2 separate regions of the Homo sapiens genome follow, and region 2 is linked to region 1. The links are contacts of gene promoters, found by promoter capture Hi-C in blood cells and fetal thymus (Javierre and others, 2016). All regions are on one chromosome and are shown on one strand. The core of a region is centred on a gene start or on the middle of the fragment in contact, and the rest is flanking DNA. Distances in the headings are between cores, read along the strand shown.

Evidence for each region. Contacts are between HindIII fragments. The CHiCAGO score rates a contact against its expected background, and 5 or more counts as called.
Region 2: a contact is called between a fragment that was not itself captured here and the fragment with the promoter of MKI67 in region 1, in 2 of 17 cell types (neutrophils and total CD8 T cells). The highest score is 7.0, in neutrophils.

What each region holds. Positions count from the first base shown.
Region 1 is chr10:128,124,229-128,128,474 of GRCh38, reverse strand. MKI67 (marker of proliferation Ki-67) reads left to right here and starts at 2,052. Exons shown (of 15, transcript NM_002417.5): 1 at 2,052-2,376; 2 at 2,719-2,899. The coding sequence starts at 2,808. RefSeq lists an enhancer at 1,563-1,792 and a silencer at 1,903-2,272. The HindIII fragment of the contact is 8,920 bases long and covers 1-3,687 here.
Region 2 is chr10:128,013,963-128,017,620 of GRCh38, reverse strand. All of the region lies in intron 2 of PTPRE (protein tyrosine phosphatase receptor type E), which reads right to left. Among named protein-coding and RNA genes, the nearest start is that of AS-PTPRE, 47 kb to the left of the region's middle. The HindIII fragment of the contact is 1,476 bases long and covers 1,670-3,145 here.

The DNA.
Region 1 (4,246 bases), core at 803-3,302:
TCCACCCACCTTGGCCTCCCAAAGTGCTGGGATTACAAGCATGAGCCCCTGCGCCTGGCCTAGCACCTTCTAGTTCTAATTAGGCTGCATCCATGAGGGTGGAAGAACTGTCTCTGGAAACAAGCAGTAATTAGGATGAGAAAAGTTGTGTTTTATGGGGTTATGCAGTGGTGGGCTTTGTTTGATCGTTTAATGGGGGAAAACATGGAAACTCATGCCCCCTAAAACGTTTATATAATAGTATCCCCGCACTGAATTTTTCTACGTCAGACTTGGCCCATACAATTTAGAGTTGCTGTCCTGTGCTTTTATGTTGCTTTCCCAGTTTCTCTATTTCCATCAGCAGCTGATATCTTTGTAGTTGCTCTAGAGCAGAGGGCTCAGTCTTTTCAATCTTGTGGTCCCTTTACACTCTTAAGAATTATTGAGAACCACCAGGAATTTTTGTTAATGTGGATGGGTTATATCTAGCTATATTTATATATTTTAAGTTAAGGCTAAGGAATTTAAAAATATTCATTTATTGATTCATTTTAAGATAGTGATGCACCTATTTCATGCTAACACCAATAACTTATTTTTATGGAAAAAAAACAACAAAATGAAAACAGCGCTTTAGTTCACATTTTTGCAAATCTCTGTAATACCTGGTTGAAACGGAGACAGTGGGAGTCTCCTCACTGCTTCTGCATTTGCAGAACCACACCCCACACTCTTGGGAGCATGAGAATGAGAAGGGCAAGTAACACAGAGGGTCATTAGATAAATGGTTTTGACCTTATGGACTCTCTGAAAGGAATAGGAAGTCCTCAGGGGTCCCCTGCATCGAGGCCTCCCTGATCAAGGGAGCCAAGCTCCAAGGGTTGCTGGGGAGCTGGAGGAGGTGAGATGGGGCAGAGAGGCCGTTGTCACCAAAAGCGTGTTTAGGCTCCATTCACTTCACCCCAGGTGGCCTACTGAGCCCACATGGCCACCAGCGCAACTGAAGCAGACCCCGATAGAATCCTGTGTAGAATTATTTTAGGATTCACCCATCTTGGCATGCACAAGCCATTTCAATTGAAGAATGTTTTCTAATAACAAAACATTGTAAACCTAAGTATGTGGCAATAGTAATGATTAAGTAAATTATGGTTTCCCGAAGCCCAGTGCTCTGCAGCCATCAGAGAGTAAAAGCGAGAATGTGTTCAGTGGAGATAGCCTCAGGATATTTAAAAGCAGAGAGCACAAAGTATAGAATCGTGTTGTGTATGTTATGACCTTTTTTTCTGTGCTTTTGAAAAAGAGAATACACGTATAGCAGGAAAAGACACACCAAACTACTTTATATAATTGGTTGTTTTTGTGTTTGGTAAGATGTATGCACTGAAGAGGAAGGTTTCGATTTTTTTTTTTTTTTTTTTTTTTTTTTTGAGACAGGGCTTTGCTCTGTCGCCCAGGCTGGAGTGCAGTGGCGCGATCTCAGCTCACTGCAGCCTCGACCGCCCCGGCTCAAGCGATCCTCCCACCTCAGCTGTCCCAGTAGCTAGAACTACAGGGGCGCCACCACGCCTGGCGAATTTTTTGTAGAGATGGGTTCTCTCCAGGTGGCCCAGGCTGGTTCTGAACTCCCGGGCTCAAGGGATCTTCCTGCTTCAGCTTCCCAAAGTGCGGGGATTACCGGCGTGAGCCACCGCGTCCCGCCTGTTTTTAATTTTTAGCAGTTTTAAATCTTCTGGCAATGAGTAATGTTATAGTGTCCCAGATGTTTGGTCCTTTAAGAAAAGGATAGCAGGACGGGTTATCTCGGTGGGAGCGTGTTCCACCTCTGCCCTCCGCCAGCCGCCCTCGCCGGGGATGCACCCAGGTATTTTCCTCCGGATGCGTGAGTGGCTCGCCCGCGGACACGCCAGCCCCGCCCCGCGAGCCCGGTTTCCCCGCCCCCTCCCCGCCCACGCCCTGCGCTCCCTTCCTATTGGTCCCATGCCGCGCTTTCCCGTTCAATCGCAGCGCTTAGCGCCAGAATTTGAATCTTCGTTTTCGTTTGAATTGGGCGGGCGCGCCGGGCTGGAAGAAGGAAGTGGAGGGCTGACGCTGCGGGCGGGCGGGCGGGCGGGAGGACTCGACTCGGTGGGAGCCGCTAGAGCCGGGCGCCCGGGGACGTAGCCTGTAGGGCCACCGGGTCCCCGTCAGAGGCGGCGGCGGGAGCAGCGGGGACTGCAGGCCGGGGTGCAGCGAACGCGACCCCGCGGGCTGCGGCCCGGTGTGTGCGGAGCGTGGCGGGCGCAGCTTACCGGGCGGAGGTGAGCGCGGCGCCGGCTCCTCCTGCGGCGGACTTTGGGTGCGACTTGACGAGCGGTGGTTCGACAAGTGGCCTTGCGGGCCGGATCGTCCCAGGTGAGCTGCGGCCGGGACTCCTGGGAGCTGTCCGGGGTCGAGGGCTGAGCCGCGGGGACCCCCCGAGCTCTGCGGGGACGGGCAGGGGACAGACGCGCGGCCTGGGCCCGACTCCTCCTGGGCTCTGGCGAGGGCGTCTCGGTGGAAGCTCCCAGGAGGCGCAGGCGCTGGCGACAACACCCCAGCTGCCGGACTTTGGGGCGCCGGGGGCTGCGGTCGGATCGTCCTGGGGTCCCCGCTAGCTAGCTGCGGTGTGCGCTTCTGTGGCCGGGGATAGGTGAATTGGGCACGGGGCCCTTCTTAGCTCCTTTGCTATCAGAGTAACTCGCACCTCTTTTGCAGTGGAAGAGTTGTAAATTTGCTTCTGGCCTTCCCCTACGGATTATACCTGGCCTTCCCCTACGGATTATACTCAACTTACTGTTTAGAAAATGTGGCCCACGAGACGCCTGGTTACTATCAAAAGGAGCGGGGTCGACGGTCCCCACTTTCCCCTGAGCCTCAGCACCTGCTTGTTTGGAAGGTGAGCCCCGCGGGCGCGCGCGGACGTTTTAGCTGAGAAAGAGGAAAATACCTTAGTCACAGAATAAAGTCCAGAAACGCGCTCTAGGATTGGGTCCTGCCGTCACTTTTCCTTGGTGCTTCTCCCATTCGTTACTAAGTTGACATAGTTGTGTTTTTTTGTTTTGTAAGTATAAATTTGATGCTAGTTTGTATGTTTAAGTGGTTTTAAAAATCAAGCCAATTAAAAAAATCGATTTGCTAATGTTGCGGTAAAGAAAGATGTAGATGATCTTCATATGTCACTGGCTGCAGGCAGGCGTCTGAAGACACTGTGCGCCCCCGGGTGCCTCCACAGTGGGCATCCCTGGCCACTGGGGACACAGAGAATGAAGGAAGGAAGCCATACACTTGTCTCTTGGCTCCTTGTGGCAATAGGAAAATGGGACAGAAAGTCTTCCTGCCTGGAATTCGAGAACGTTTCCTCTTATATTGCTGTCCTGTTTGGTGGTGGTAATAACCCTGTCCCTGTATAACAGGTATAGTTGCTGACAGTGCCCCATCAGCCTCTGACATGTGTCCCACTAGAGGCCTGAGAAGGGGGGTCATTTCCCGTGTGGTCATTTCCCAGACCACACGGGATTCAGGCCTCACCCTGTCCTCCCAACCCCATCCCGGCCTCACCCTGTCCTCCCAACCCCATCCCCTACCTTGTTCCTCCCGCCTAAGGCATTCCAAGCCTTTGTTCACCTTGGTACTTCTTACACACTTGGAAGTTTACAATGGGAAAGTTCTCCCCTTCCTCAAGCTTGTGTGATTTCCATCATTCAGGCATCAGGTGAAATGTCACCTCTGAGGAAGCCTTGCATGAAAACTTGTATTTCCAACCCCACAGCTTCAGGGGTGAGTTGTGGGTTTGTCTCCCACTAGGCTGAGCTCCCCAAAGGCAAAGACTGTCTTGTTACTAATCACGTGTGTAGGGCCAGGGATGGTGTCTGGCATAGGGGGTGTGATCAATACCTAGCATTCTGGCAAGGGTCAGTAGAAACATGGGCTGGAGCCATGGATTTGCAATCTCTTGAGAACAGTGGTTCTCACAGGAGGGTCATCTAACCTTCCAGGATTCATTTGAATTTCCATGTCACAATATAGGACAGGGGCATGCGCTGTCATCGCGGAGGAGAGGTCAGGGTGGGCATCCTACCAGGCTCAGGGCAGCCCCCACAATACAGAAGCATCTGGCCCAAGATGTCAACAGTGCCAAAGCTCAGAAACACCCATCTATAGTCGTCCTCCTGCCAAACAAATTCTCAGTTGTAAGGGATAGTCTTTCCTTTGCTCTGATGTCCTGTTACCTTAAAATCAAATT
Region 2 (3,658 bases), core at 1,158-3,657, 110 kb after region 1:
GGGTGACTGCGTTGTCCCAGAGTAGGTCATCCAATTACCAAATGTCCCATTCCATTTCAGGATGTTGTCGGTGGGGAAGGCTGTGCCTGTGTGGGGAGGGCATATGGAAATTCTGTACCTTCCACTCCATTTTGCTGTGATCCTGAAACTCCTCTAAAAAATGTCTGTGAGAAAGAAAAAAAATTCTCACCCTGTCCTACTGCCCTTGGAGTTGAACCCAGACTCCTCTTTGAGGCCAGCTCGGGCAGCAGCCCTCACAATGTGCACACTGGCCCATCCAGCAAGCGTGCCAGGCCTCTTACCTCCAATTTCTATAGCTCTCAGCTCTTCTTAATGTTCTTAATGCCCGCCCCACTTGCCCCGCCAAACTCTTTTGATCCATTCCCCTCTGAGCCATGCCAACCTCTCCAGGGACCAGCACCTCTCAGCCACCTGGGTGCTGTTCCCAGGCCACCGAACTGCCCTCTTTTCACTGCCATCAGCCTGGCCCACGCTGCTCACTGGATGCTGGGCTGTCTCCTCCCAGCATTCTGACCCCTCAGTTCTGCAGTCTGACTCGCATACAGCAGGTGCTCAATGCGTGTGCATGACGAGGTCTGCCTTACACTTTCCAAGATGTGCCTCATCTTCCACCCACATTTCCTAAACTCTTCTAAGGTAAAGGAGGAGTGGGAGGGACCTCACAGGACCCCTGAGTATTTGGTCTGGGGCAGAGGGAGCCAAGGCCAGGGCGGCACCGGCTCCACAGCGGCCACAGGTCTCCCCGGCAGGAAGGCAGGAAGCTGCTGTGCCTCAGCCACGTTGGGCTAAACAAGGTGAGTCTGTTCCTCTCACCTGTGTGAAAAGGCAAGTCATACCAACAAATCCAAAACAGTAGCATGACTGGGGCCACTGGGTGGGCAGTGATTTGGTGGGATGAGACCTTTCTGGCTGTCCCTGTGGTCCCCTCTGAGCTGTGCCAACCTCCCAGGGACCGACACATCTCGGCCACCTGGGTGCTGTTCCCAGGCCACTGAACTGCCCTCTGCTCACCGCCGTCAGCCTGGCCCACGCTGTTCCCTGGACCCTGAGCTGTCTCCTCACCAGCCTGGGCAACATAGCAAGACTCCATCTCTAAAAAAGTAAAAAAAAAAAAAAAATTGGCCAGGCATAGTGGCACTGGTCTAAAAAAATAGACATGCTTTTAGAGTAGTTTTAGGTTCTCACCACATGGATGGCTGGTGGTGAAGGATGTTTCTCCACCTGGGGGCTGGGGGTGCCTGGTTAACATAAGAGTACAAATTTACTGTAACAGAAGCTGCAAATTGGGTCCCGCTGACTAAATGTGACCTGTATTACTGGGTTTGACCTGTTCTGTGTTTTGAAAGTTTTACATTTTTTGAAAAGCTGTAATTACATAGAGTTAAGTGCATGGGCCTTAAGCCTACGGTATGATGAGTTTGGGCAAATGTCTGCTGCAGACCCCCATATGGTCCATGCCCTGGTCCCCTGGAGGAACATCTGTCACTATCCTAGACACCTCCTTCTTGTCCCTTTTCAGTCTACCAAAAAGTCCCCTCCTGCAACCCCAGGAAGCCCACACCATTCTGATCTCCACCTCCAGAGAAGATGCCCTTGCCTGCCCTTGAGCTTCCTCTAAGTGGAAACACGCAGCTCGTGTCCTAAAGCTTCTCTAGTGCCACAGGCTTCAAGGCCCATCCGCTTTCTCATGGGCACCGCAGCCCATTCCTTTGGACTGCAGAACAGCATACAGTCATGTGATTGTGCTGCCATCTGCTCTCCAGCTCTCCCCTTTTATTTATTAGTTTTAGAGACAGGGTCTTGCTCTGTCCCCCAGGTTGCAGTGCAGTTGCAAGATCATAGCTCACTGTAACCTCGAATTCCAGGGCCCAAGTGAGTAGCTGGGACTACAGGCATGTGGCACCATACCTGGCCAATTTTTAATTATAAGATGAGCTCAGCTGGACGTGGTAGCTCACGTAATCCCAGCACTTTGGGAGGCTGAGGCGGGTGGATCACGAAGTCAGGAGATCAAGACCATCCTGGCTAACACGGTGAAACCCCATCTCTACTAAAAATACAAAAAATTAGCTAGGTGTGGTGGCGGGTGCCTGTAGTCCCAGCTACTCAGGAGGCTGAGGCAGGAGAATGGTGTGAACCCAGGAGGCGGAGCTTGCAGTGAGCCGAGATCACGCCACTGCACTTCAGCCTGGGCGACAGAGCGAGACTCCATCTCAAAAAAAAAAAAGAGGTCTTCCTATGTTGTCCAGGCTGGTCTTCAACTCCTGAGCTTAAGCGATTCTTCTGCCTTGACCTCCCAAAGTGCTGGGATTATAGGCGTGAGCCACGAGGCCCGGCCCCATTCTCCTCTTGATACACATTTGAGTTGTTTCAGTTAGTTTGCTCTTATAAACAAAGCTGCTATGAATGCTTGGGTACAGGTCTTTGCTATGAATGCTTGGGTACAGGTCTTTTTGTGGACACATTTCTTCATGTATTTGGGGTCAACAACCGTAAGTGGAATTTCTAGGTTGGAAGAGGAAGTATATATGTTTACAAAGGTTTTAAATTAGTTTGAAATATTTAGAATCAGAGGAGTCCACATGAAAGTCTGGAGATCTGTCTTCTCTCGGGAAGACCGGGTGTGGCATGCACTCTTGTGTGACCCTCTGGGCTGGTCCCTGAGCTTGCAGAGTGTCAGCATGGCCCCCACCCCATCCCATTCCCAGCCATGTCATCTCCACTGTCTCCTTCCTACCAGCCTGGGGCTGCAGTTCCACAAATGGACGCCCAGCCACAGGGTTTGGGTTTATAGTGGCTCGTCAAATGCAGAGGGCTCCGCTGACCACCCCCAGTGCCCTCACTGGGAGCGCCAACAAGCCAAGGTGAAGCTGGGGTTGAGACGGGGGATGGGGGATTGCTGATTTTTTTTCTTCCTGACTCAAAGCAACAACTTTTAGTAAATTCCAAGTGAAATGCTTCCTTTTCCAGGCCCCCACTATTCAAAGTTGTGGGAGAATTTTTAATTTGGTTCAGTCTTCCTTAATATGCTGCAGATACACAGATTTTAATCTTCTTTTATTAAAAATAAATCCGCCCTCCTCGCATGGGTCTCTTGTGTAAATATCTAATTAGGGCAAAAGCTTGGCCCAGCCCAACAGGGGTGTGTCAATGTCCCCCTCGATACACGCCGTTTGAAGGAAGAGACTTCAAAGAATTGCCCCCATCTTCTGAAGAATGTTAATTGGGCCAAACAATGTGCATGCATTATTTATAACTGCTCCTCCGGTTGTTTGGGAGAACATTTGACCCCAAATTGCAACTAAGGAGAGAACGCTCCATATTTTATAACTCAGAGAAGCTGCTTCACAACCTCCCTGGACACCCCAGCTGTGAGGGGACGCACCCTCTGCCAGTGCCTGGAGGGGACCTGTGGAGCTGGGGTCCCTGCCAAAGCCCTGGTCCTCATCAGACTTGTTAGGGTGGTGCATCTCCTGCTTTGCCAGCCAGTCTGGGACGGAGGATCAGAATCCTCATCTAGAACAGAGATGACCACGACCCAGAGAGGACAGGCAATTTGGCCTGAGGCACACTTCAAGAGAATGGCAGAGGTAGGGGCACATTGGGTCTTGTCTAATTCCGTGGTAGCCTCCTGCAC